Regions from separate parts of the Homo sapiens genome. Here regions 1, 2, 3, 4, 6 and 7 are each linked to region 5. The links are contacts of gene promoters, found by promoter capture Hi-C in blood cells and fetal thymus (Javierre and others, 2016). All regions are on one chromosome and are shown on one strand. The core of a region is centred on a gene start or on the middle of the fragment in contact, and the rest is flanking DNA. Distances in the headings are between cores, read along the strand shown.

Region 1 (3,421 bases), core at 445-2,944, 660 kb after region 5:
GGCCTCCCACACTGTCCTGCAGGCAGCCTATACTCCAGCCCCATTGATCACCTCCCCTAGTCCCATAGACACACCCACGCTTTCACATCTCTGTGACTTTGCCTACGATGTGGCCTCCACCTGGAATACTGTTCTCTGCTCTCTCACCTTTCTTTAAAAGCCCATCTCAATGCCACTTTCTCAGGAGACTTCTATGGGTCCCTCCTGCAGCTAGAAATAATCCCTCATTCTGAACTCCCACAGTTCCTGTTAGTTCCTTCCTGTTCTTTCCCTACCCCTTTTCATCTCAGAGGGTTATTGTGATGCTGAACTGAGATCATGTTCAAGGAAGCTCTTTGTAAACCAGGAGGCACTGTCCAAACATGAGGGCTTATGAGGGCCCAGATCTCATCAACTAAAGAATGATATGGTCAACAGTGTCCAATTCTATGCTGCTCAATACAGTACTTCACACACTCAAGGAGCATTTGCTGAAAGCCTGGTGTTTCCCAAGCTGGTCTTGAACTTCCAAGCTCAAGCAATCTTCCTACTTCAGCCTCCCAAAGTGTTGGGATTACAGGCATAAGCTACCATGCTCAGCTCAAAAAACAAAACAAAACAAAACAAAACAAAACACACTTCTTGAATGACAGAATTGCACCACGGAAGAGAAGGAACAGAGTTTGGTGAGCAGGTAGCAAGCACCCCCTTCCCTCTGCCTCTCTCTGCACAGCATCCCCCAAGTATCCCCCAAACTTGCACACACCCACATACATAACACCACTCCCACTAAATAGACCCCAGACACCACAGCCTTCCAAAAACTTCTATTTTTTTCTATCCTTGCACATTCTGCTTCCATGTTCTTCAGCCCCTCCCAACAGCCCCCAAGCTTCGTGACTCTTCTAGCTCCACTAAACTATTTCCCTCTCCAAGTACTAAAATGCTAAGTATTTATTTTAGGATGGAAGAAAATTACAGCCTGTAATTAGCACATTTTTTGAACATATTGCCTAAACCACTGCTGTGTGGTGGAGCCAAGAACAAGCAGTAGTAAAATTAACAAGGTTTATTAAACAGAAGAAACCATTCAGAGCTGAGCTAATGCAACAATCACATGGAAGTCCCTCCTCTCTCCTGGGGCAGCTCTCTCGATCATCCCTTAAAGAGGAATGACACTCTCCTCTGAAAGCCAAACTATGCATGTCACAAACAGGGATCAGGGAAGAGAGCTGGATTTATAACTCAGCTCTAAGATCCATGAGCTGTGTGACCATAAGTTAGTCAAACAACCTCTCTGAGTCTGTTTCCCACCTACAAAATAACGAAAACCTGTCTGATATACCTGATAAGTAACAGGACTACTATCTTCACATCCATGCATTCAGGATCTAATACACTAATACATGCTAAAATGTTTTCTAAACTTGAAGGCCTATATCCTTTTAGGTTATTATTCAACATTTTTCTCTTTCTATCTTCTTTCTCTCTCCCCAACAACTCTCACACACTCCTCTCTCCAAGGCCTTGGTGTAGGACTGTGTCAGCTAAATAGGAGGGGTGACTTTCCCTAATTTGAACAAAGATGTCATATGGGTGAGTGGTCCTAATCTGGGATGCATGGAATGGAAAGCAACAGAATCACAGGGGAGTGCTAACAACATCACCTGGGGCAGATGGGAATGGCTTCTGGCAAAACGCACCATTTGAACGAATTACCTTTTGGAGAAGTCATTTGCCAGGGAGAGAAGGTAGGAAAGGGCCTTCCCATAAAAGGAAAACTCATTGAGGAAACACAGAAATATGAAAACCTACGGCCAGTTTGGGAAATGGCAAGTTGGTCCTTCCGGCTGAAGCCGTAGGAAGGTTGAATAATGCTGAATGCTGGGAATTTATTAGATGTCTAGTCATGCATTTCTTAAATATCTCATCTACTGAGTGTCAGGTCCTGGGTGCTAGGCCCTGAAAAGTTTTTAAAGGATTGTTGAGAGATATTATTCAGAAAGAAAGTAAATGTCCTTCTAATTGTGAATTCCAAGAGTCTTATTTCTCAATGCAACATCCAGCCATGCCCACTGGATCTAGGAATGTAGGTTGTGGCATGATGTCAACAATGAGGCTCCCCCAAACAATATGGGTTTCAGATTTTTCTCTGAGACTTCAACCAGTGAAATGTACAGACACTGTGGATTTCTAGGCGGTAACCACACATGGGAATAAGCCAAGAATCTTCTTTAATCCAGATAGATTGGATGTGACCTTAGGAAGGCAGACTGAAAGAGTTTAACATGTGGAAATTTTTGCTAGTGTGTTGTACCCAGTCTGGAGAAAGACTACGTAAAGAGCAGAGGATGATCAGATCAAAATCTACCCTACAGGGGCAAGAAGTTGGGCCATCCAAGTGCCACCCAGTGGAAAAGCGGTTCTATGCCTGCCACTCAGACACCAGTAGCATCAGCTGGGAGCTGGTTAGAAATGTGGAATTTCAGGCCCCTCCTCCCGACCCACCAAATCAGAATCTACTTTTTCATAAGCTTTCTGGAAAATCTGTATGCATATTGCATTTTAAGAATCACGACTCTAGACTTTTTCCTATAAAGCGTCAGAGATGAATATCTTAGGCTTAGCAGGCCTTACGGTCTCTGTCCCAACTACTCAGTGCTGCTGTTGCAGCATGAAAACAGCCACAGGCAAGATGTAAATGAACGAGTCTATTCACTTGAATGGCTCTATTTTAACAAAACTTTATTTATGGACACTGAAATTTGAATTTCTTATGATTTTTACATATTATAAAACAGCATTCTTTACTTTTTTTTCAGCCACTGAAAATGTATAAACCATTCTTAGCTCAGAGGCCATACAGAAACAGGTAGTGGGCCATATTTGCCCCCCAGGTCAGTTTGCCAACTCCTGCTTAGACCACAAACTTGAGTATCTATGCCAACGCAGTGCCCTAGGTAATTTCTCCAGTTCCAAAACTCTTCTAGTTCTCTTTGTATAATACATCCCTTAAATATGATGCTGGTTTGTACATCAGTCTCCTATGCACAGTTAATGTGAGTCAGCCCTGAGAAGCCACTTCTGCTGTACTGATAAATCAGGTATCCGAAGGACAGATAGAAGAATGTGGTAAATACACAAAGATGAAGTCCTCCCTATGAGGCTTGTGGGTGGAAAATTAGCTGCCTTCCCTGTCAGGAGCCCTCCACTGCCAAACACCTTGTATTTAAACCAGCACAAGAATGCCTGGGCTGCCTTACAGATCAACTCCCACCAAAGCAGAATTAGGGATGTTCTTTCATATACAACTAAATTACACAAATTTAAGTAGCCTTCAAATCCAAAATGTATCCTTAAAACAGTAGTTTTATAACTGAGATCTTTGTATATATTGTAGTTCCTTATAAATTACTTGGGGAAAAAAGTGTTCAGCTATCAA
Region 2 (3,180 bases), core at 175-2,674, 670 kb after region 5:
GAGCCTCAGTTTTTCTCATCTGTGAATGGGGCCAATAATATCTACCTCTTAGGGACCGTGGAAAGGATCACATTAGGTAATTAATGTTAGGCTCTTGGCATAATGCCTTGGCACATAGAAAGTACTCAAAAAATGTCACTTCTTAATTAGCTTTGAAAAAGATGGGAATCTGTGGGGACTGTGGAGGGTGGCTGAACAGGAAGTCTTGATTGGCCAGTTGGGAAATTCCAGGGCAGAGGTACGGGATGAGAAGGTTTGATCTGCTGCCAAAAGAACCATGCTGAATGAGATAATTCAGAAAGACCAATTCACAGAATCCAAGTAAAAGGGAAGAAAGACAGGACCAACAAGAGGGTCCTTTGGCCCAAACCTCACTATCACAAAATGCCCCAAGTTTAGATTTTTGCCATTACCTCCATCTGTGTTTATACATAAAATATACGGAGCCACTGCCAACCAATGTGAATTTATATAAACATTTAATTCCACCAATATTTGGGCATTTCTTCCTTTTCAATAAACTAGAGGCTTCAAAACATGGAAATGGCTCAGGCTCTGCTTGACCTCTGAGAGATCCTCTTAGCAGGGTTTAGGTAGACCCAGGTCTGAAATCGAGCCCAGCCTAACAGGGGGGCCTTTCTACTTGGAAACAGCAGCCATGCGCTATCTGACCTAAAGCAGCCATGCTCATAAACTGCATTATGGGATCTGGGCTTATGGTAATGGGACCAATCAGTTTACCTGGTAGAGGAAACAGCATGAGGAAAAGCTCAGAAGGAAGAAAGCAAAGTGTGGGCACAGGGACAGCACATCCTGAAGACTGGTCGAGTGTGGAGTCCAGGAGAGGAGGGGTGGGACCAGGGGCTGGAAACCCACATGGGAACCAGATTGTGGGGAATATGTAAGCCAAAGAGTCATGAAACCTTTGTATAATGCTGGCAATTTACACAACTAACAGCAGAGTGCAAGGCATTTCTCAGCATCACAGCATTTATCCCTTGTTCTGGGACAGCATTCTTTGCTTCCACCACCTCACAAAGCTCTGTCGTTCCTCAAAGTGGTCCTTCCTCTTCCCAGAAACTTCCCAGGAAGAGCATCAGTTGTTTCTTCCCATGCTCCAGGTGTGTTATTGACTCAGCTGTAAAAGAATAATATGCCCAAGGAGCAAAATTTGTCCGTGGCCACCAAGCCATTCATTGCAAAGGTGGTGTCTAGTTTAACTCCTTGGTCCTTCTTAAATGCATCAAACACCTTCTTGTCTATGTCGTCTGTTTGATGAAGGTCAAGTATTAGAGGCTGTTCTGTGATGAAAACCAAAATATAGAGACATGCATAGGAAAAGGAATTTTATCAGGAGAGGCAGTCTAAGAGATATTACTTGGAAGTAGAGAACCTTCTGGGATATTTAGATGGCTTGTGAAGATTATGAGCCAGAATGTTGAAATGGGATTCTCCTAGAAAACCTGGGATGAAAGGAATGGAAGAGACTGCCAGTTGCCTTCCAAATGTCCATTCTCCCTTCGGAGGGAGGAAGCAAGAGATTCCCAATTGTTAGTTTACCCATCCTCCTATCAGACTAAGTACTGGCCAATGTTAGCCAATGTGTTGGATTTCCAGAAAGAATCCATTAAAGAAGCTGATTCACATAGAGCATAAATCCGACTGCTCTTCGGTTTTTCATGCTTCTTCCAAGTAGGAATGCACATGTGACCATCAGAGTCCCAGTAGCCATCCTAGCCCATGAAGTGACCTTGAGCATGAAAGTTATACAATATGGATGATGGTGTAGAAAGAAAGTTGTTGGATCTTTGATGACCATGAAACCACCATGCTGGTCCTGGGCTACGTACCTCTGCATTTCTTTTACAAGAAAAATTTAAATTTTTTGAAAAATCCTTGTGTTTTAACCACTGTCTTTTCTTCCACATGCAGCTGTCTCTAATCCTAACTAATACAGAAAGCTGTTTAGGCCCAACCACAGGAGAACAGACACATCCAAAGCCCATCTCTCCATCTGTCAAATATCTTTGCCAATCTATCTCTGTAATAAATACCTAGCGCCAGCCAGACTCTGAAAGGAGGGATAAAAAAAACATGCAGACTGATCCAGATGGTGCCTGTCTTCTTGGCAAAGTTCATCTTTTAAACGCTACTCCTTCAGAAAAACTTTTGTTAACCCCTAATCCAAATAAAGTCTCTATGTGATTCTCTCCTTAAGCACCTACTATGTTACAATCACTTGTCTCAGGGCCAAAGTACAGTCAGAAAAAAAGAGGATCTTGAAGCCTCTCACAATCTGGTGGCGGGAAAAAGGCATATTAACAAACTATTTCAATATGACATGTGGGCGACAAGCTAGAGGGTCTGTTTGAGAGGATGTGAGAACTCAGAGAAGGGTACTTAGTACCACCCTGGCTGGGCTGTCTTGGGGAGATACCACCAGAGCTGAACCTTGAAGAAATGTAGTCTTAAGGGGCAGATTTCCTAAAAGGAAAGCCTGAGATGGAGATTCTTGTACGATTTATCAATGGAGTGATCATAGAAGAGTCCTGTAGGTGACTGAAGAAAAGTTGAAAGGACAAATGAAAAACAAAGATGAGGAAGTGGCCAGTCGCAGTAGCTCATGCCTATAATCCCAGAACTTTGAGAGGCCACGGCAGGCTGATCGAGCTTGAGTACATGAGTTCAAGACCAGTCTGGGCAACATGGTGAAACTCCCCCTCTACAAAAAATTTAAACAATTAGCCAGGCCTGGTGGCGCATGCATGTATGCATGTAGCCCCAGCTACTCTGGATGTTAAGGTGGGAGGATTACTTAAGCTCAGGTGGTCAAGGCTGCAGTGAGCTGAGATTGTACCACTGCACTCCAGGCTGGGTGACAGAGTAAGACCCTGTCTCAAAACAAACAAAAAAACAAAATGTGGAACCACTGTATTCTAGTGTCAGCCTGATCTTACATGGAGCTCTGAGTGTGAGTAGTCCCACAGTTAAATGTCTCTCCTTGAAGAAGGCTAGGCCCTGGTAATTCCATTGCATTCAGTCAAGGGCTGCTGCCCGCCCCTGCAAAGATGCCTGGAGGGCATAACTTTCCAGGCATTTCCCCTCTGGGACCCTCCATAACTAAGGCTGATTCTCTGGAAAATAGTACAGCAATGAGCTATTAGCAACCAATATTCAAAG
Region 3 (3,029 bases), core at 140-2,639, 750 kb after region 5:
TGGCTTCTAGTGCTCTATTTGTTAAAAAAATAATAATAATCAATCCCCAAAATGTACTCCCTCCCACCCCCAATAATTTCCATTCATATTGGACTTGATTATTTAAATTTAATTTGTTAGAAGTTCAATATTTTATTTTGCATGATTAGCCTTTTAATCAAGTTGTGAGAGTTCAAAAATATTCACACTATTGCATTTCTTTTTATTGGTTTGGGGGTTTTTTTGTTTTTGTTTTTGTTTTTTTTGCTTTTTTGGAGTTTGTTTGTTTGTTTGAGAGAGGGTCTCACTCTGTCCCCCAGGCTGCAGTGCAATGGTCCAATCTTGGCTCACTGCAGCCTCAACCTCCCAGACTCAGAAGATCCTCTCGCTTCAGCCTCCCTGGTAGCTAGGACTACAGGTGCACACCACCAGACCCGGCTAATTTTTCGCCATGTTGCCAAGGCTGGTCTCAAATTCCTAGGCGACCCACCTGCCTCAGCTTCCCAGAGTGTTGAGATTACAGGCGTGAGCCACCACACCCAGCCTATTGCATTTCTTAACACAATACGTATACTTTATTTTTTTAAATGCAATGTTGTCCTAGTCCTTGCAGGCTGCTATAACACAGTATCATAGACTGGGTGGCTTACAAATAACAAAAAAACATATTTCTCACAGTCCTGGAGCCTGAGAAGTTCAAGATCAAGGAACTGGCAGATTCAATGTCTGGTGAGGGCCCCTTTCCGGGTTCACAGAGGACAACTTCTTGCTGTGTCCTCACTTGGTAGAAGGGATGACCAAGCTCCTTCAGGCCTCTTTCCTAAGGGCCTGAATCCCTATGACCTAATCACTTCCCAAAGGCCCCACCTCTGAATACCATCGAGTTCGTGGTTAGGATTTCAACACATGAATTGGGGTGGCGGGGAGCACACAAGCATTCAGACCATAGCAAATGTAAAGAATTTGTCTACAAGAAAATCCACACATTGGTCATGCTCTCGTCTTCATCTGTGTCCCTGATTCTTTCATTTCTGTTGGCATCCAGCAGCATGATGGACTTTGTATGGAAGTGCTGAGCAAGAGGCCAGCACTTCAAACAGTGCAAGACACTTAGGGGCTCAGGGCGTAGATGCATGAGGAAATGAGCAGCTTAATAAGCTACATGGATAGCTGTGGGTGCCAGCCCAGTTCCTCATCCCCACTGCTCATGCTCAGACCTGGGAAAATGTGGGGAAGATATATGGGGACCCTGGTTACCTCTAGACAGCTGCATCCTAATATAAATACTCAATCTGCCCATTTACTCTTCCTTCCCCTCTCCCAGGATCTCCCCAGTACACTCAAGAGTGAAATGGGCTATGGGCTGACCTTCCATTAGCCTCTGGAGAAATGAAGACTTATGCCCTGACTTAAGAAGTGTCTAGAAAACTATGAATACATAAGCATAGCTCATTGTTTGATATAGTGTATATTTTGTCATGCAAGTGATTGATGCCTGTTGAAAATGAGAGTAGCTCAAGTGTAAACAAGGATCCACATGGCCCATGGCAATGTCTTCATCACAGAACCAATCCTGTAACACTAACAATGACGATGAGGTTAGGGGACACTCGCTATGTGCCAGGCCCTCTCTAACCATCCTCCCTGCATTAATTCATGTGATTCTCACACTTCTCTAAGAAGTAGGAACTATTTTTCTCTAGTTCTTGATTCTCTTATTTGTAAAATGGAAAGAATATTTGTTTCCATTTTATTTTAATTTATTTATTTATTTATTTATTTATTTATTTATTTATTTATTTCCTGAGACAGGGTCTCACTCTGTCCAGCAGGCTGGAGTGCAGTGGCACGATCACAGCTCGCTGCAGCCTTGACCTCCCTGGACTCCCATCTCAGCCTCCCAAGTAGCTGGGACTACAGGCGTGCGCCACCATGCCTGGCTAATGTTTTTGTATTTTTTGGAGATGGGGTTTCACCATGTTGCTCAGGCTATTTGTTCCCATTTTATAGGACATTTTAAATTTTTTTTTTTTTTTTTTTGAGACAGAGTCTTGCTTTGTCGCCCAGGCTGGAGTGCAGTGGCGCGATCTCGGCTCACTGCAAGCTCTGCCTCCCGGGTTCATGCCATTCTCCTGCCTCAGCCTCCCGATTAGCTGGGACTACAGGCGTCCGCCACCACGTCCGGCTAATTTTTTGTATTTTTTAGTAGAGATGGGGTTTCACCATGTTAGCCAGGATGGTCTCGATCTCCTGACCTCGTGATCCGCCTGCCTCGGCCTCCCAAAGTGCTGGGATTACAGGCGTGAGCCACCGTGCCCGGCCAGGACATTTTAAATCTTATGTAATAGGATTTTTGTAGAAATTTAATGAGTTCATACATGCCATGTAGTAAGCACTTGATATGTATTCGTTTTTAATATTTTATTATTGATACTGTCTCCATTTTACAGGTTAAGAAACCGAGACGCAGAGAAGTTAAGTAAATTGCCCAAGTTACACAGCTAGTAAGTGGCAAAGCCAGAACATAAACTTCCTGCTATTATGAAGACACTGCTGAATCCTGCAATCCATGAATATCTGTGTTAAGGAAAGTGAGAGATGGATTACTCCTGCCAATAATAAAGGGGGGAAAACAAAGCTGCTATTAGAAGATGAGTCCACCAGGGGGAAGTAGATGCATGCATTACTTAGGCATGACGCTAGCCCGGGGAATTTTTTTTAAGACGTTAAATATTAAAAGTTTAATCACCGATTTTACGCCAATGGTGAAGGAAGAACTTGATTCAAATTATTTTCCTATTACCTGAAAGTGCAGAGGATTAAAAATGACCACGCACGTAAAATTGACAGGTAAACTGTCAAGTAAATGAAAGGGCTTCCCCCAACAAGCCGGAGATAAATGGTGGTTGTTCACTCCCGCGAGCCTGACCCTGTGTTAGCGCTGGGGATCAGGAGGACAGGCATGAAGTTCACTGAACAGCGAGAGGCAAAGACCCACCACACCACTCCCCCACTCTCCACTCACCCTGATTCTGTGTTAAAAGGTGAAT
Region 4 (3,440 bases), core at 448-2,947, 730 kb after region 5:
GCTGTATCATATTGGCTACTCTCCCACTGGCTAAACCAAGTTACAAGGCCAAGCCAGATTCAAGAGATGGAAGAATAGAATCTGCTTCTTAAGAGGTGGGTCTACAAAATACTGTGCCCATTTTTTTCTCCTCATTCCTTCTGCTGCTGAGACTTTTGCCGGCTGAGAGCCCTCAACTGTTATCTCTCTCCAGAAATTCCTCTTTTTCCCTGAAGAAAGCTGCCTCACTGAAGGACACTCCACCTTCCCAAGGGCAGCCTACAATGGTAAGTGGCTGTCTTAGTCCATTTGGGCTGCTACAACAAAGTGCCATGGACTGGGTGGCCTAAGAACAACAGAAACTCATTTCCCACAGTTCTGGAGGCTGGAAGTTGAGGGTCAGGGTGCCAGCACCATTGAGTTCTGGTGGAGGTTCTCTCTGGGTTGCAGTTGGTCATCTTCTCATTTTATCCTCACGTGCCAGAAAGAGAGCAAGAGAGATTTCTGGGGTCCCTTTTATAAAGGCATTAATCCCACTCATGAGGGTTTCATCCTCAGGACCTAATCACTTCCCAAAGGCCCCATCTCCATCACATTTGGGGGTTAGGATTTCAGCATGAATTTTTGGAGAGACACGAACATTCAGCCCACTGCACTAGTCAATACAGGAATATAAAGGCATAGGCCATTGCCCGAACCTGGGACAAGTCTGAAGGTTCAGAGCTTCCCAAAGGGGTCAGCTGAGGCCTTAGATGAAACTGAATTGCAATCCAACACCTCTCTCTTCTCGATCTCGCTTCCTGCCCTGCCACCACAGGTGTCCATGCTGAGCACACCTCCTGGTGAACCTATGCACTCAAATCTCTGTCCAGCACCTGCTTCCTGGGGAATCAACCGAACAGATGATGCCAGGAGTAGTCTGAGAAAGAAGATGCTAAGATGGGATCTGAGGCTGCCAGCTGACCACTGACAGGCAATGAGATCCCCGTTACCGTTGGTACACCGAGCTGATAAAGCCCCTGACACAAGATGGTGATGAAACTGGCAAAACTTCCAATGGTGTTAAAATGGAATGGGATACAGGTGGAAGGAAAATGTATTTGGTGTTAAAAATATATGGGAAATAGTCATTACAAGGGCAGTGGAATTAAATGGCTGTCACTGGAGAACAATGTTTGCTTTGGAAAAAGATGACAAAAGACTGAGGGTGACTACCAGTCAATTAAAAACTGAACACAAAAGCTCAAGTGCCTCCTTAGCATGGTTAAAAAAAATTTTAAAAAAAGACTCTTATCTCCTGTAGCAAAGGAGGTTAAATTCTCAACCTTAGGTAGATTTGCTATGATAGGGTCAGGACCCTGGCTGGGAAAGCAATGTGACCTTGAGGGATGACAGCTGGGTTAATGCCTCTGAAAAAGCATGAATCCTCTGATTTCTCTGAATGCCTGGGCCTGCAAAATGGCCTCGTCTTGTTAAGTTCCATCCCTGTTTCCTCCTGGAAGGGGATGCCGAGGCCTCTCCCATGTAAGAGAACGTGTGTACCACTGTGATCTGCCCATACTTCCCACTGGCCTCTAAGCCAGGTGCACATCCCAGCAACACAACCCAGCTGTGGAGGTGCTGAACCTTATAAGGAGGAAAAGGACTCTACCCTGTAGGAGCTACAGAATCCTGCCAAGTCTTATCAGAAAAGAGACTGCATTCGAAGGGTGCTGGAATGAGGAAGGTGTGAGAATTAGAAAACAGCACTGGATAAAAGAGAATGTATCATTATGGGGGCACTTTCTCTGAATATAGGATTTAATACCCTGGCAGGGACCCTGAGAGACACTGCAAACATGCTGATAGGATGGCTCCTGGAAGCATGGAGAAAACAAGTTGTTGGGTTTTCTTAAGTATTCCATCTTGGCTGGGCATGATGGCTCACGTCTGTAATCCCAGTGCTTTGGGAGGCTAAGGCAGGAGGATAAGGACACATCTAGCAGCAGGATTAGAGAAAACAACTTGGAGGTGAAGCCAAACGCAGGACTCCACTCCTTCCTCCCTGAATTAAATGCACACCCATGCCTGGGCAACACAGCAAGACCTCGTCTCTACAAAAAAATAAAATAAATATAAATATATAATAAATAAAAAATTAGCCAGGTGTGGTGGCACGTGCCTGCAGTATTCCAGCTATTCAAGAGGCTGACGTGGGGGATCACTTGAGCACAAGAGGTCAAGGCTGCTGTGAGCTGTGATCATGCCACTGCAATCCAGCCTGGGTGACAGAATGAGACCCTCTCTCAGTGTATTAGGCCGCTCTCACACTGCTGTAAAGACATACCTGAGACTGGGTAATTTATAAAGAAAAAGAGGCTTAATGGACTTACAGTTCCACGTGGCTTGGGAGGCCTCACAATCATGGCAGAAGGTGAAAGGCACATCTTACATGGCGGCAGGCAAGAGAGAGAATGACAGCCAAGTGAAAGGGGTCTCCCCTTATAAAACCATCAGATCTCTTCTGAGTTATTCACAACCGTGAGCACAGTATAGGGGTAATCACCCCCATGATTCAATTATCTCCCACCAGGTCCTTCCCACAACACGTGGTAATTACGGGAGCTATAATTCAAAATGAGATTTAGGTGGGGACACAGAGCCAAGCCATATCACTCAAAAAAACAATAAAAATAAATATATGTATACCCAGTGTCAGGTATAACTGCAGATTGCCTTTTTCCCTCCTGGCAACTCCTCCAGATGCTCATCCTGCTCTAGGCTCTTTCCCCATGGAGGAGGCAGCTGTGAAGGCAACATAGCTTGGACAAACCCTGCCCCTGAGTTCAGAAGGGGCTATGCTGGCTATGGTCACTTCCCCTGATCTCAATCTCCCCCATGAGATATGTCCTTCCTCCCCTGGGAGACACATTAGTAAAAGAGGTGGAGATAAGGACAGGGGAAAGAGAAGGACAGAAGAGAGAGAAATGGAGCTCCTTCCTCTCCTGTCCCACAGAAGTCAGGGCTGGGTAGGGCAGGTATTAAGAAGCCCAATTATGGCACTGGCCCTGGGTGTGGAAGGCATTATGATCTTTATAAATGATCATAGCATTCATAGCTACCATTTGTTGAATTATCTGATGTGCCAGACATTGTGCTATTCACAATAGCAAAGACTTGGAACCAACCCAAATGCCCATCAATGATAAAGTGGATAAAGAAAATGTGGCACATATACACCGTGGAATACTATGCGGCCATAAAAAAGGATGAGTTCATGTCCTTTGTAGGGACATGGATGAAGCTGGAAACCATCATTCTCAGCAAACTAACACAAGAACAGGAAACTAAACACCGCATGTTCTCACTCATAAGTGGGAGTTGAACAGTGAGAACACATGGACACAGTAAGGGGAACATCACACACCAGGGCCTGTCAGGGGTGGAGGGCTAGGGGAGGGATAGCATTAGGAGAATACCTA
Region 5 (3,380 bases), core at 550-3,049:
TGTGGGATCTATAGGCACAACGTCCACAAACTGTATAGAAGCAGAACAGTTTCAGGATGGGGGTGGGTGGCAGGGAGGCCCTGCAAATGCGGTGGACAGAATAGGAATTGAATAGGCATGATGCGCCTTTGTGTCTGTGTTCTGTCATTGCTCCTGGGGAAGGGAAGAAGGGGCAGGGAAGTTTGTGTGAAATATCAGTAGAAGGAAAGTTTGGACAGGTAAGAATATCACGCGTCAGAGTACAGCAGAGACACGTGTGGAGGATGAGGGCAGTGTTTCAGGCCATTACTCTGGCAGCAGTGAGGAGGCTCCCGGGGAGGGTTGGGGAGAGCGGGCTGTTGCTGGAGTCCGGGGTAAGGTGACCAGGGGTAGACAGGAATGAAGGCGGCGGGAATGTAGAGGAAGGGCTGCACCTGAGAGCTGCAGAGGAGGCCCCAGTGAGGTCCACTGGTGGAAAAGAACCGCCATGCGATCTGCAGAACACCAGACCTTCTTCAGCCTTCACTCTTCCCACCCTAGTCTGGTACATTGCACCACTTGTTAAAAAAAAAAATTTCCCTAAGACCTCTTTTTCTCTAGCCTTCTTCCTTATTTTTCATGGTCTCTTCTTAGAACGGCGGCAGCCACGCCGCGGTGGGAGGCCCTTCCTGCCTGACCCTTACCGTGCGGGGTACCGTTCCTGTCACCATCGCCAGGATCTGGCCCTTTCAGTGAAAGGAAATCTCCCAAGGCCTAAGGAGGCAAGAGGCCTGCAAATCGCCTCCTGCTCAGCAAACGGGTTGCTCAGCAGGCCCGGGGTCCTGGTCCACCCCAGGTCCCTGGTTTGCCCACCTCCGATGGCGGCCTTCGCTGGCAGGGTGGGCGCCTCTGGGGAGCCAGCTCCGTCCCGGCGCCTTTAGAGCCCCATCTCTTCCACGTCCCTGGCCTTCCTCCCCTTCCAGGCGGCTGTCCCCGCCGGGGTCCAGATGGTGTCGGAGGGCCGGCGGTTCGACGGCGGGCCCGGGGTTCAGCCTCCCGGCCTCCCTCCGTCCCTGACTCTCCTTTCTTCGGAGAGGGCGCGGGGGCCGGGGCCAAAGCGCCGCTCTTGGGGTTCTCCTGGACTCGGAGTTGCCCCAGGCGGGCGCAGCTCTGCCCCGCGGGGTGCCAGCCTCGGGCGGGCAAGGTCCGTGAGTCACCGCCTGTAACCGAACACCAGGCCTCCCTGCCCCCTCCCCCAGCTCCGGCCGCCAGGCTGCGGCGACACCTACAAGAAAATGAAGGGGCGCCCAGGCCCGCGGCGGCCCCGGCCGTATCGCGAGCAGGTCCCGGCGGCCCCCGGCTCGCGGCGCTCTTTCTTCCCCGGCCCCGGGGCTCGGCCAGCCGCAACCGCCGCCCCGGCGCCAGCAGGAATCCAGGCCGAGCGACCGGCCCCGGAGCCCGAGGCGGCGGAGGGCCCGCGGTAGCTGCGACTGGCGAGCCCGAGAGCGCCCGGGGAGGGGGCGCCCGGCTTGGAATTTCCCGGTCCCTTCCGGCCCAGCGAGGACAAAGCACTCCTGGCCGCCGCCGCCGCCGCCGCCGTGGCCTACGCCGCGCCGCACAAAGGGCGAGTCGCGACACGCTCCCATCCCCCTCCCAGCTCACGGCGGCCCCGGCCCCGGGTGGCTGCAGGGAGGTGGGGGAAGCCCTGGCTGCACCGCCCCTCGCTCCCCCTCCCCTGGGGCCGCGCGAGCGCCGCCCCCGCCCCGTCTGCGCGTCCTCCCGGGGAGGGGTTGGGGGGCGCGGCGCCCCACATAACACTCCCCCTCCTGCGCTGCGAGCCACCCTCTCCCCTCCCTCCTGCAAACACCACCGCCTCCCCTGCCACCGCCGCCACCTCGCCCGACGCTCCACAGCTCGCCGCGGCCGGGGGGCGGTGCGCGGACCGTGCGCGCCGCGGGCGCCAGATGTGCAGTCCCCGCCGCCGCCAGTGACCGAGCCGCAGTCCGAGCGGTATCGGGCCGCCTCCCTGATGCTGCGGGGGCGACCTTGAGCGTACAGCGGCTTCCCTCGGTGGGGACCCCGACATCCCAGCGCTGTGCCCGGTCTTGCCCTCTGTAGCCCGGCTCGCCCCGCGCTTGGACATGGAAGGGGCCGCCGCGCCTGTGGCGGGGGACCGCCCCGACTTGGGGCTGGGGGCGCCGGGCTCTCCCCGAGAGGCGGTGGCGGGGGCGACTGCAGCCCTGGAGCCCAGGAAGCCGCACGGGGTGAAGCGGCATCACCACAAGCACAACTTGAAGCACCGCTACGAGCTGCAGGAGACCCTGGGCAAAGGCACCTACGGCAAAGTCAAGCGGGCCACCGAGAGGTTTTCTGGCCGAGTGGTGAGTGGGGCAATCCTGGAGGGTGCGGGGGGCGCTGGGTGGACGCGGCCGGGGACTGAGGGCGTGCGAGGCGGGGGTCTGTGCGCCCTGGGGCTCTCTTGACAGAGAGGGGGCTCATTGGGAAGCCCCGAGACAGACTCCTCACTCTTTCTCCAGCACCCCGTGACTCAGGCGTGTCTCTGTCCTGAAACACTTGTTACATCCTGTCTGCACATATTTTATTTTATTTTTTGGTTTGTTTTTAAAAATTTAATCCTAGCAGCAAAGGAATGTTTTAGATTTGCAAACACTTTGCAGCGTTGGGACGGCCGGGGTCTCTCTCCCTCGCAGGCACTCATTTAGACCATGCCCCGAAACGTCTTATTTCCACAACTCTCCAAAGAACCACATTCCCAGCTAGGAGCTAGCCCCTCAAGTCCGGTGTTTTGTAGGTGTCCCTACCCCCTTCCACCCATCTGCCCGCAGCTCCTTGCTCTGCATCCTCCCACTCAGACTCTGCATCGCCCTGATACTGCTGTGACTGCAAGGGAGGGCGACTCTTGCCTGTTTTTGAGACAAGGTTAGGGAGCAAAAATAAAGACTACTGCAAGCCTGAGGATTCTAACAGTTTGCATCATGGCTTTGGGAGGACCGAAATGTCCAGGGCATGGGTAGCTACAGAGATAGCTGTGCTTAGTTGCAGCAGGCTCAGTTGTGTTTCAGCTCCTGGTTGCAGGGCTACCAAACCGCTGAAGGGGTCTGGCCCCGCTGCTCTTGTGACAGCTGACACCCTGCCAGGGTCCTGGCACCATTTGCACAGCTCCAAGGAGTGCTTTGAGTGCCTTGGGGTCTGTCTGCCTTGTCCCAGCCTTGGTTTGTTGTTATTTTCACTTCTGCAGAACAGGCCCTTGAAATCCACACTGCTTGTGGCTAGAGAGTTGGGTTCAAAGTGACTGACTGTTGCAGAAAGATTTTGTGTGGTGTGTGGCAGAAAATTAACATGGTTCTTTGATTTGAAGCAGATCAGATGTATTCTAATCGATTTAGGGCCAAAGTCAGAAA
Region 6 (3,420 bases), core at 850-3,349, 630 kb after region 5:
GAAAGCAGCCTGATTATACCATATCTCTCTCCTATTTCTTCTTTTTTTTTCTCCTCTTCTATCTTTCCTTACTATGTCTCCCCTCCCGCTCCCTTCACCCCACCCCTGCCACTGTCTGTCTCTCCTTGTCTCTCCTCTGTCTTTCCTCTTTTTCTCTCTCTCTCTCTCTCTCTCTCCTCTCTTTCTCCTTTTCTCTCTCACACCCACCTCTCTGTCATGTGTTCTTACCAAGTCTCAGAGCCTGAAACACACTGAAGTCTCCGTATCCCTCTGCTTTATTAATTCTGGGTTCAGGCCCTCTTCCGATGGCTTTGCCCAGAGTTCTGGGGCACTGTTTTAGGGGACTAGGACTGCTTTGGCTGCCTGCTGAAGCTTGAGCTACTCACCCATCTTAGCAGCACATCACCTTACATCCCAGGTTAGGTGGAATTTTTACAAGTATCTGAGTTTTCCCAGAAGCTCTCGTTCTTTTCTCTTAGCACAGCTCAATCTCATTTCTCCCTGTTGCCTCAGTGGTGGACAGTATGGTTTCTCTGCCCTCCAAGGATCGACACAGTCTTCCTTAACATAAGGGGCCCAGTCTGACAGAGGCATCAGTGTGGCCTGGGTGCTCTCCCCACTGTATTCCCGCAAGCTCTCTGCCTGTGCTCCAGCCAACTTGCCTGGGTCGGGAACTTGCCAGGTGCCATCTTTGTGATCAGAATTTTCAAGAAATTTTATTAAGAACCTAAGGGAAATTTAATCTAGACTTGCAATGCAGTTGGACTCAGTGGCATGCACCTGTAGTCGCAGCTACTTGGGAGACTGAGGGAGGAGGAATGCTTGAGGCCAGGAGTTCAAGGCCAACCTGGGCAACATAGTGAAACCCTGTCTCTAAAAAAACAAAAAATGAATAAAAGTAGCTGGGCACAGTAGCGCACCTGTAGTCCCAGTACTCAGGAGGTTGAAGTAGGAGGATTGCTTGAGCCCAGGAGTTGGAGAGCAACTTGGCGATATATAACAGGACTTCATCTTAAAAAACATTTTTTTAATTTTTAAAAAAACCTTGCGAATGCTATAGAAAGAACACAGATTGAGGGGGTAAAGCAGTTGTGTCACCTGTGTGGCAGAGCCTTTTGATGGTCTCCTTAGATGCATTTTCCCTTCATTCCTCCATAATAGAACCTCCAAATCTTGATTGGGCACATAGCCACCAGAATAAATACTACATTCCCTGAGTTCCCTCGCTGTTAACTATGGATGTATATAACAAAGTTCTAACCAATAGAATATAAAAGGATATGACTTGTGTCATCCTTAGGTGTGTAAATCCTTATGTACTTATGATATGGCTTGTGTAACTTTCATGATGTATTCTTAAATGCAATGCTTCTTCCAATTTCTTTTCTTTTTCTCTTTCCTGTGAGCTGGACTGAAGTTATGATGGCTGGAGCTAGAGCCGCCACCCTGGACCACAAAGTAGAACTCTTGGATTAAGGAGGACAGGGCAACAAAATGGATAGAGCCTTCGTTCATTGCTGATCATGGGTCCATCATTTCAGCCCTAGGCTACCAATGTTTATATGAAAAAATAAACTTGTACCTTATTTAAACCACTGGTTTTGGCAGGGAAGCAGGGATGTTCTCTCACTCATTTTCCACCAACTCCAAATGGAGGAGATCAGAATCTACGATCACTAAGTCCATTTCTGGTCCGAAACACCAGTGGTTCTAGTTAAAGTCATAGATATGTTTACAGAGTGCAGATTTCTGAGTTTAGCTTCAAATTCAGCAGCATAGGCCGGAATAACTGGCACAGCCGAAGGAAGTGTAGGGCTCTGATTCCTTTTCTCCCCATCACTCTGTGTTTAGTGGCCAGGGGGCGCTAAGGACAGGCAGAGTGGAGCCAAAACAAAAGTAAAACTGGTATCACTTATGGAGTCCTTGCCTTGTGCTGAACTTCATTTAATCTTCACAACAGCCCAGGGAAGCAAGTGCTATTACTATCTCCTTTCATGGTCGAGGAAACCGAGGCTCATAGAGGCATGTCAGGAATTGCCAGGATCCAACCATGGTGTGTCTGACTTCAGAGCCGGCTGTCTCCCAAAACGACATCTCAACATGGGAAATCCAGAGATAAAAACCCACCTAGGTAAGCCAGTGTGTACATGCCTATGTGGAAGGGGGAATGGGTAGAAGCAAGGAGGCCAAAGAAGAAAAACTAGCCCATCACAAATCCTTCTTCCATGCCCAAAGCCAGAGACACCATATGCCCATACACCTTTGCTTGAGTATTATCCAGCTGGTGTAGTGGAAAATGACAGTTCCCTGGAACTGCATGGGAGATCTCAGGACAGGACAAAAACCTGGCCAGTGGGAGATACTGGGGCTGGGAAATGAGTCCCTGCCCCCTGGCACATTGAACAAAGGAGAGACACGCCTGGTTTGTCTATAGAGAGCAACTTGCTTTTTATTCCCTCTTAAAATCAATTCAACTCAACCCCATGCCTGCCAGAAATACATAAGGCATGACCCCACCCTCAAGGAGAACACAATACAATGAATATAGCTGAGATATTCATGCATCCTCAGTAGGGAAGGTTTTATTGTCCTCATCTTACCAACCAGGAAGCTAAAGATCAGAGAGATTGAGTGACTTGCAGAAAACATATGGTGGAGCCAGGATTTGAACTCTGTTCCAAAGGCCCCAAAACCTGTACAACTCCATGCTGAAAATTAGCCTCCTAAATGAGATTAGAGTCCTAATCTCAAAGCCAATGCCTCCTTCTAAGAGCAAAGTCCATTTAAAAAAAAAAAAAAGATCATCATTTCTTCCAGCTCTTGTTTGTAGACATCAGCGTAGAATCACCAACCCTCTTGTCTAGATGGTACCTTGGAGAATATCTAGACCAACAATCAACTTACAGTTGAAAAATATGAGTCCTGGAGTGATCACAACCTTACCAATGATCCCACAGCTCTCTTTGGCAGAGCCACCATCAAACAGAAGGTGCTGACTCCTGTACTGCACCAACCTGCTGCTTCTATACTGGAATGAGCCTACATAAACCCGTGGGTCAGCCTGTGAGTTCCAGAATCAGACAATCTTGGGTTCAAATCTTGGCCTTGCCACATTTGTACCATGTGACATTAGCCTCCCTATATCTCACTTTTCCTTAGGCACACTTGGGCATAATCATAGTAACTGTGATGAGAAGCAAAGAAGGCGATGCACAAAAATGATGTGCTTGGTGCCTGGCACACAGTAATTCCCTGGCAAACGCCACTGCGCAGGCCACTCCCCTCTCAACCAGCACATCCCAAACAAGGGCATCAGAGAAGGATACAATTAAATCAGCACATAAAACATGAGCATTTTCCCTCATCTCAAGCTGACAGATGAATACAGCCTGGAGATTATATATCATGTCTCAGAGAAAT
Region 7 (3,459 bases), core at 511-3,010, 560 kb after region 5:
ACTCAGCATTTAACAGTTTGCCGTGTTTCTATATCATTTGATATTCACAACAACCTGGACTGAGCTGTGCAGAATCGCTGTCCTAATTGCCACTTCACAGAAGAAATTGACAGTCAGAGAAGTTGAGTCCAAGTCAGTACTTTTTCTGCTATACCCAAGTTTTAGGGGTGAACAGGACATTTCAATTATATATTTTGTCTTCTGGACTCAAAATGATATTTAAAAGACAATCAATTGGCCAAGTCTGGTAGCTCATCCCTATAATCCTAGCACTTTCGGAGGCCAAGGTGAGGAATTATTTGAGCCCAGGAGTTTGAGACAAGCCTAGGCAACATGGGAAACCCCCTCTCTACCAAAAAAGATACAAAAATTAGTCAGATGTGGTGGTGCGCACCTGTAGTCCCAGCTACTGGGAAGCTGAGGTGGGAGGATCGCTTCAGCCATCGGGGTGAGCTGAGATTATGCCACTGCACTCCTGGGCGACAAAGCAAGACTTCATCTCAAAAATAAATAAATAAATAAAATAAAACTAACCAATGTTAAAAATAAATAAAGGAATAAAATACAATACACTAAAGCTGCTAGTTTTCTAGTATATTCGATGTTAATCTTTTGAACACCTTCCTGCTTTTGGAGGAACTCCCTATTAGGTGATCTGACTATGAAAACCAAAGAGGACTCTCCCTGCTCCCTGGTTGCTGAACATGGGCACACAATCTAAGAACAGTCAACAGGGTATTCCAACTCAAGTCTGTGGCGATTAAGCAAGCAATCCAATGACACAGAGGAAATTAGGACTTTAACTCAAATGGCAGCAAGTTCACTCCTAGAAGCCTGAGGGTCCAGTGGTGGCAGCAGTGGTGACATAGTGGCAGCCTGCTAGCAAGCACCTTCTGCTGGGGGTCTTCAGCTGTGGCCTAACTCCCTGGGATACATGCATTTCCTGAGCTGGTTCTCTGGTCTTCCATCAATTTTGGAAGCTACTCAGTATCTTTTCAATACGTGCATTTTCTTGTTACAGTATGTTCCTTGCATGCCATAACCCTAAGTGGTACCCCCAGGGAAGCAACCACATGACCTACTGAGATGTTCTCTCTAATGCATCTGGCCTCAGAGTAGGATTTATGGGAAGACTGGTCTGACTTGAGCTCCCTCCAACCTCCAAAGTCTGGAAGACTTTTTTTGTTTTGCTTTGTTTTTTGAGATGGAGCCTTACTCTGTCACCCAGGCTGGAGTGCAGTAGCACAATCTCGGCTCACTGCAACCAGGCTCACTTCCCGGGCTCAAGCAATTCTTCTGCTCAGCCTCTCGAGTAGCTGGGAATACAGGTGCCCACTACCACACCCTGCTAATTTTTGTATTTTTAGTAGAGATGGGCTTTTGCCATGTTGGCCAGGCTGTTCTCGAACTCCCAACCTCAAGTGATCCACCCACCTTGGCCTCCCAAAGTGCTGGGATTACAGGAGTAAGCCACCGTGCCCGGCCTGTAAGACTGAGTCGCAAAGGTGCTTTGAGTCACCTACAGGATAGACCCACATACCAAGGATCACAAAGACAATGGGCCAGCCAGCCTCCTGTGTCCTGCGGACCTATGTCCTGTGTTTACACTGTCAATTCTACCACCACATACAGACAATCTCAATACACATACAATTCATGACAAACCAGAGCCAGTCTAGTAAAAGAATGCCTGAAAGAGCACCGTGAGAGAGCATTTTCAAAATGTTTGTAGTGAGCAGCTACCACTAAGAAGGAAGTGGGCATGGGCTCAGAGCAAAAGAAAGACAAATTCATTAGAAAGCCCGGTGTAGGCTGTTTAAGAGCTTCCTCGTGCAGAGCAGACACTTTGTGATGTCTATAATTTCAGAGTGTTCAGATAAGTCCTGTTATTTATCAAAAGGAAGAGGCCCATAAAACTGCAATTAGGCTATGACGGAATCTTCCCAAACTATTAAAGCCTACCTCCCGTGGGTCTCGCAAGCACACTTCACACATTGAATGGCTTTCAAAGCAGTTTCATAAGCTCACTATTATCATCTTTGTGTTTATTTTATAGATGAGGAAACTGAAACTCAAAGAGGTTAAGTGACTTGCCCAGGGTCACACAGGTATTAAGTGGCAGAACTGGGAATTGAGCCCAGGTCCGCCTGGCTCCAAAAGCCACATTCTTTCCACTAACCCACGGTGCTGTTTTCCTTCCCAAGGCAATTGTCAAGGCAATTGTCAAGATCCTTTGCCAAGAAGTGCTAACAACTCATGTCTGACAGTGGATGAACAGGAAGTCTCTCAGTGGCCTAGTGACATGTGGGAGTGGCAGACCATGAGATGTGAGTGTGTAGGGATGGGCCAGGCTGTCAGAGAGGCCAGGTGATTTCTGGCTTGGTTGTTTTTCTCTGGAAAAAGTCTTGGTGGGGTCATTAATTCAGGAAGTGTGAGGAAGAGAGAGAGGAGCATGGGGTAAGGCTAGGAAGAAGGCAAGGGGAGAGAGAGAGGTTTTGCCCTCATACATAACCTCCTTCCTCTCCTGAATGGAGGTTGCAGGCTCCAAATCTGAAAGAGCAGCTCCCCTCTGGAAAAGCCCCTTCAAAAGCCCCTCACAGCCCCAGCTTTCCCCGACCTCTGAGGCTCTCCTGCAGTGCCTGTCCTGGCAGACACCCTTCCTCATGCCTGTTCCTTGGCTGGACCAGAACCTCTTTGGGGTTGTATTAGGCAACATAGCTAGACATCACTTGGGCTAAGAGGTAGGAAATGGAATAACTTTGAGCCTTGAACAGGGTGTCCTTGGAGATGATTTTATTAACGTGTGACTTGCTTCAATTCAGAGCCCTCTGAGGGCACAGTCTACCCTGCCTGCCAGCAGCCCAGACAGAATGCCTGAAGGAACAGAGGTTTCAATGAAAAGTGCAGCCTCTTGAAGCAAGGACAGAGCTGTCCTTACAAAGGACTGATCTCCCCTGAAGGGACGGCCACATCCCACACTGATTATGAGTTGACTATGATGAAAACACGGGGAACATTCGAGGGACAAGTTTGCCCCACTCTAGATAGTCATTGTGATGAGGGAGCAATAACACACCGGGCCACTTGTCCAACCTCTTAGCACTCCCTGAGGAGACAGAGTGAGCCACCTGGCTGGTAAACAAGAGCCAGTCGTCTATCTTTCTTTAATGGGTGGTGCTGACCCATCAAAGATCTCGAGGAGGGAGACTTGGCCTCTCTTCCTCCATCCTTCCCTACCTGGAGAAGTGTGTGGCTTTGCAGATTCCAATTTGCCCTCAGGTTGGTTGCTCCAAGGTCCAGTCTCAGTGCTGGAAGTCAATAAGCCCCTGTGGGTTCTCACTCCAAGTCCTTGCTCCAGTCATACAGATGAGGATTGGGCCCCATTTTCCTCACTCCTTTGTCTTGGTTCAGAATCAGAAGGGAAAGAGGCAATATTGATTTGTGTCTTCTCAAAATCCC

The links. Contacts are between HindIII fragments. The CHiCAGO score rates a contact against its expected background, and 5 or more counts as called.
Region 1: a contact is called between a fragment that was not itself captured here and the fragment with the promoter of NUAK1 in region 5, in 1 of 17 cell types (endothelial precursors). The highest score is 9.9, in endothelial precursors.
Region 2: a contact is called between a fragment that was not itself captured here and the fragment with the promoter of NUAK1 in region 5, in 7 of 17 cell types (endothelial precursors, M2 macrophages, M0 macrophages and 4 more). The highest score is 10.1, in endothelial precursors.
Region 3: a fragment that was not itself captured here is called in contact with the fragment with the promoter of NUAK1 in region 5 in 1 of 17 cell types (neutrophils); the score reaches 5.5 in neutrophils.
Region 4: a fragment that was not itself captured here is called in contact with the fragment with the promoter of NUAK1 in region 5 in 15 of 17 cell types (M1 macrophages, total CD8 T cells, neutrophils and 12 more); the score reaches 12.7 in M1 macrophages.
Region 6: a fragment that was not itself captured here is called in contact with the fragment with the promoter of NUAK1 in region 5 in 1 of 17 cell types (endothelial precursors); the score reaches 5.9 in endothelial precursors.
Region 7: a contact is called between a fragment that was not itself captured here and the fragment with the promoter of NUAK1 in region 5, in 1 of 17 cell types (endothelial precursors). The highest score is 6.9, in endothelial precursors.

Annotation. Positions count from the first base shown.
Region 1 is chr12:105,480,805-105,484,225 of GRCh38, reverse strand. No RefSeq gene overlaps it. Among named protein-coding and RNA genes, the nearest start is that of C12orf75, 150 kb to the right of the region's middle. The HindIII fragment of the contact is 1,642 bases long and covers 874-2,515 here.
Region 2 is chr12:105,463,461-105,466,640 of GRCh38, reverse strand. No RefSeq gene overlaps it. Among named protein-coding and RNA genes, the nearest start is that of C12orf75, 130 kb to the right of the region's middle. The HindIII fragment of the contact is 7,273 bases long and covers 1-3,180 here.
Region 3 is chr12:105,383,146-105,386,174 of GRCh38, reverse strand. All of the region lies in intron 1 of LOC105369957 (a long non-coding RNA gene), which reads right to left. Among named protein-coding and RNA genes, the nearest start is that of C12orf75, 54 kb to the right of the region's middle. The HindIII fragment of the contact is 8,197 bases long and covers 1-3,029 here.
Region 4 is chr12:105,404,097-105,407,536 of GRCh38, reverse strand. The region is part of intron 2 of LOC105369957 (a long non-coding RNA gene); the gene reads right to left. Among named protein-coding and RNA genes, the nearest start is that of C12orf75, 75 kb to the right of the region's middle. The HindIII fragment of the contact is 5,484 bases long and covers 1-3,440 here.
Region 5 is chr12:106,137,373-106,140,752 of GRCh38, reverse strand. NUAK1 (NUAK family kinase 1) reads left to right here and starts at 1,799. Exons shown (of 7, transcript NM_014840.3): 1 at 1,799-2,339. The coding sequence starts at 2,100. RefSeq lists enhancers at 1-477, 2,869-3,370. The HindIII fragment of the contact is 5,150 bases long and covers 1-3,380 here.
Region 6 is chr12:105,502,928-105,506,347 of GRCh38, reverse strand. The region is part of intron 1 of LOC105369958 (a long non-coding RNA gene); the gene reads right to left. Among named protein-coding and RNA genes, the nearest start is that of C12orf75, 170 kb to the right of the region's middle. RefSeq lists an enhancer at 1,723-2,017. The HindIII fragment of the contact is 3,450 bases long and covers 375-3,420 here.
Region 7 is chr12:105,579,737-105,583,195 of GRCh38, reverse strand. No RefSeq gene overlaps it. Among named protein-coding and RNA genes, the nearest start is that of CASC18, 120 kb to the left of the region's middle. The HindIII fragment of the contact is 5,427 bases long and covers 1-3,459 here.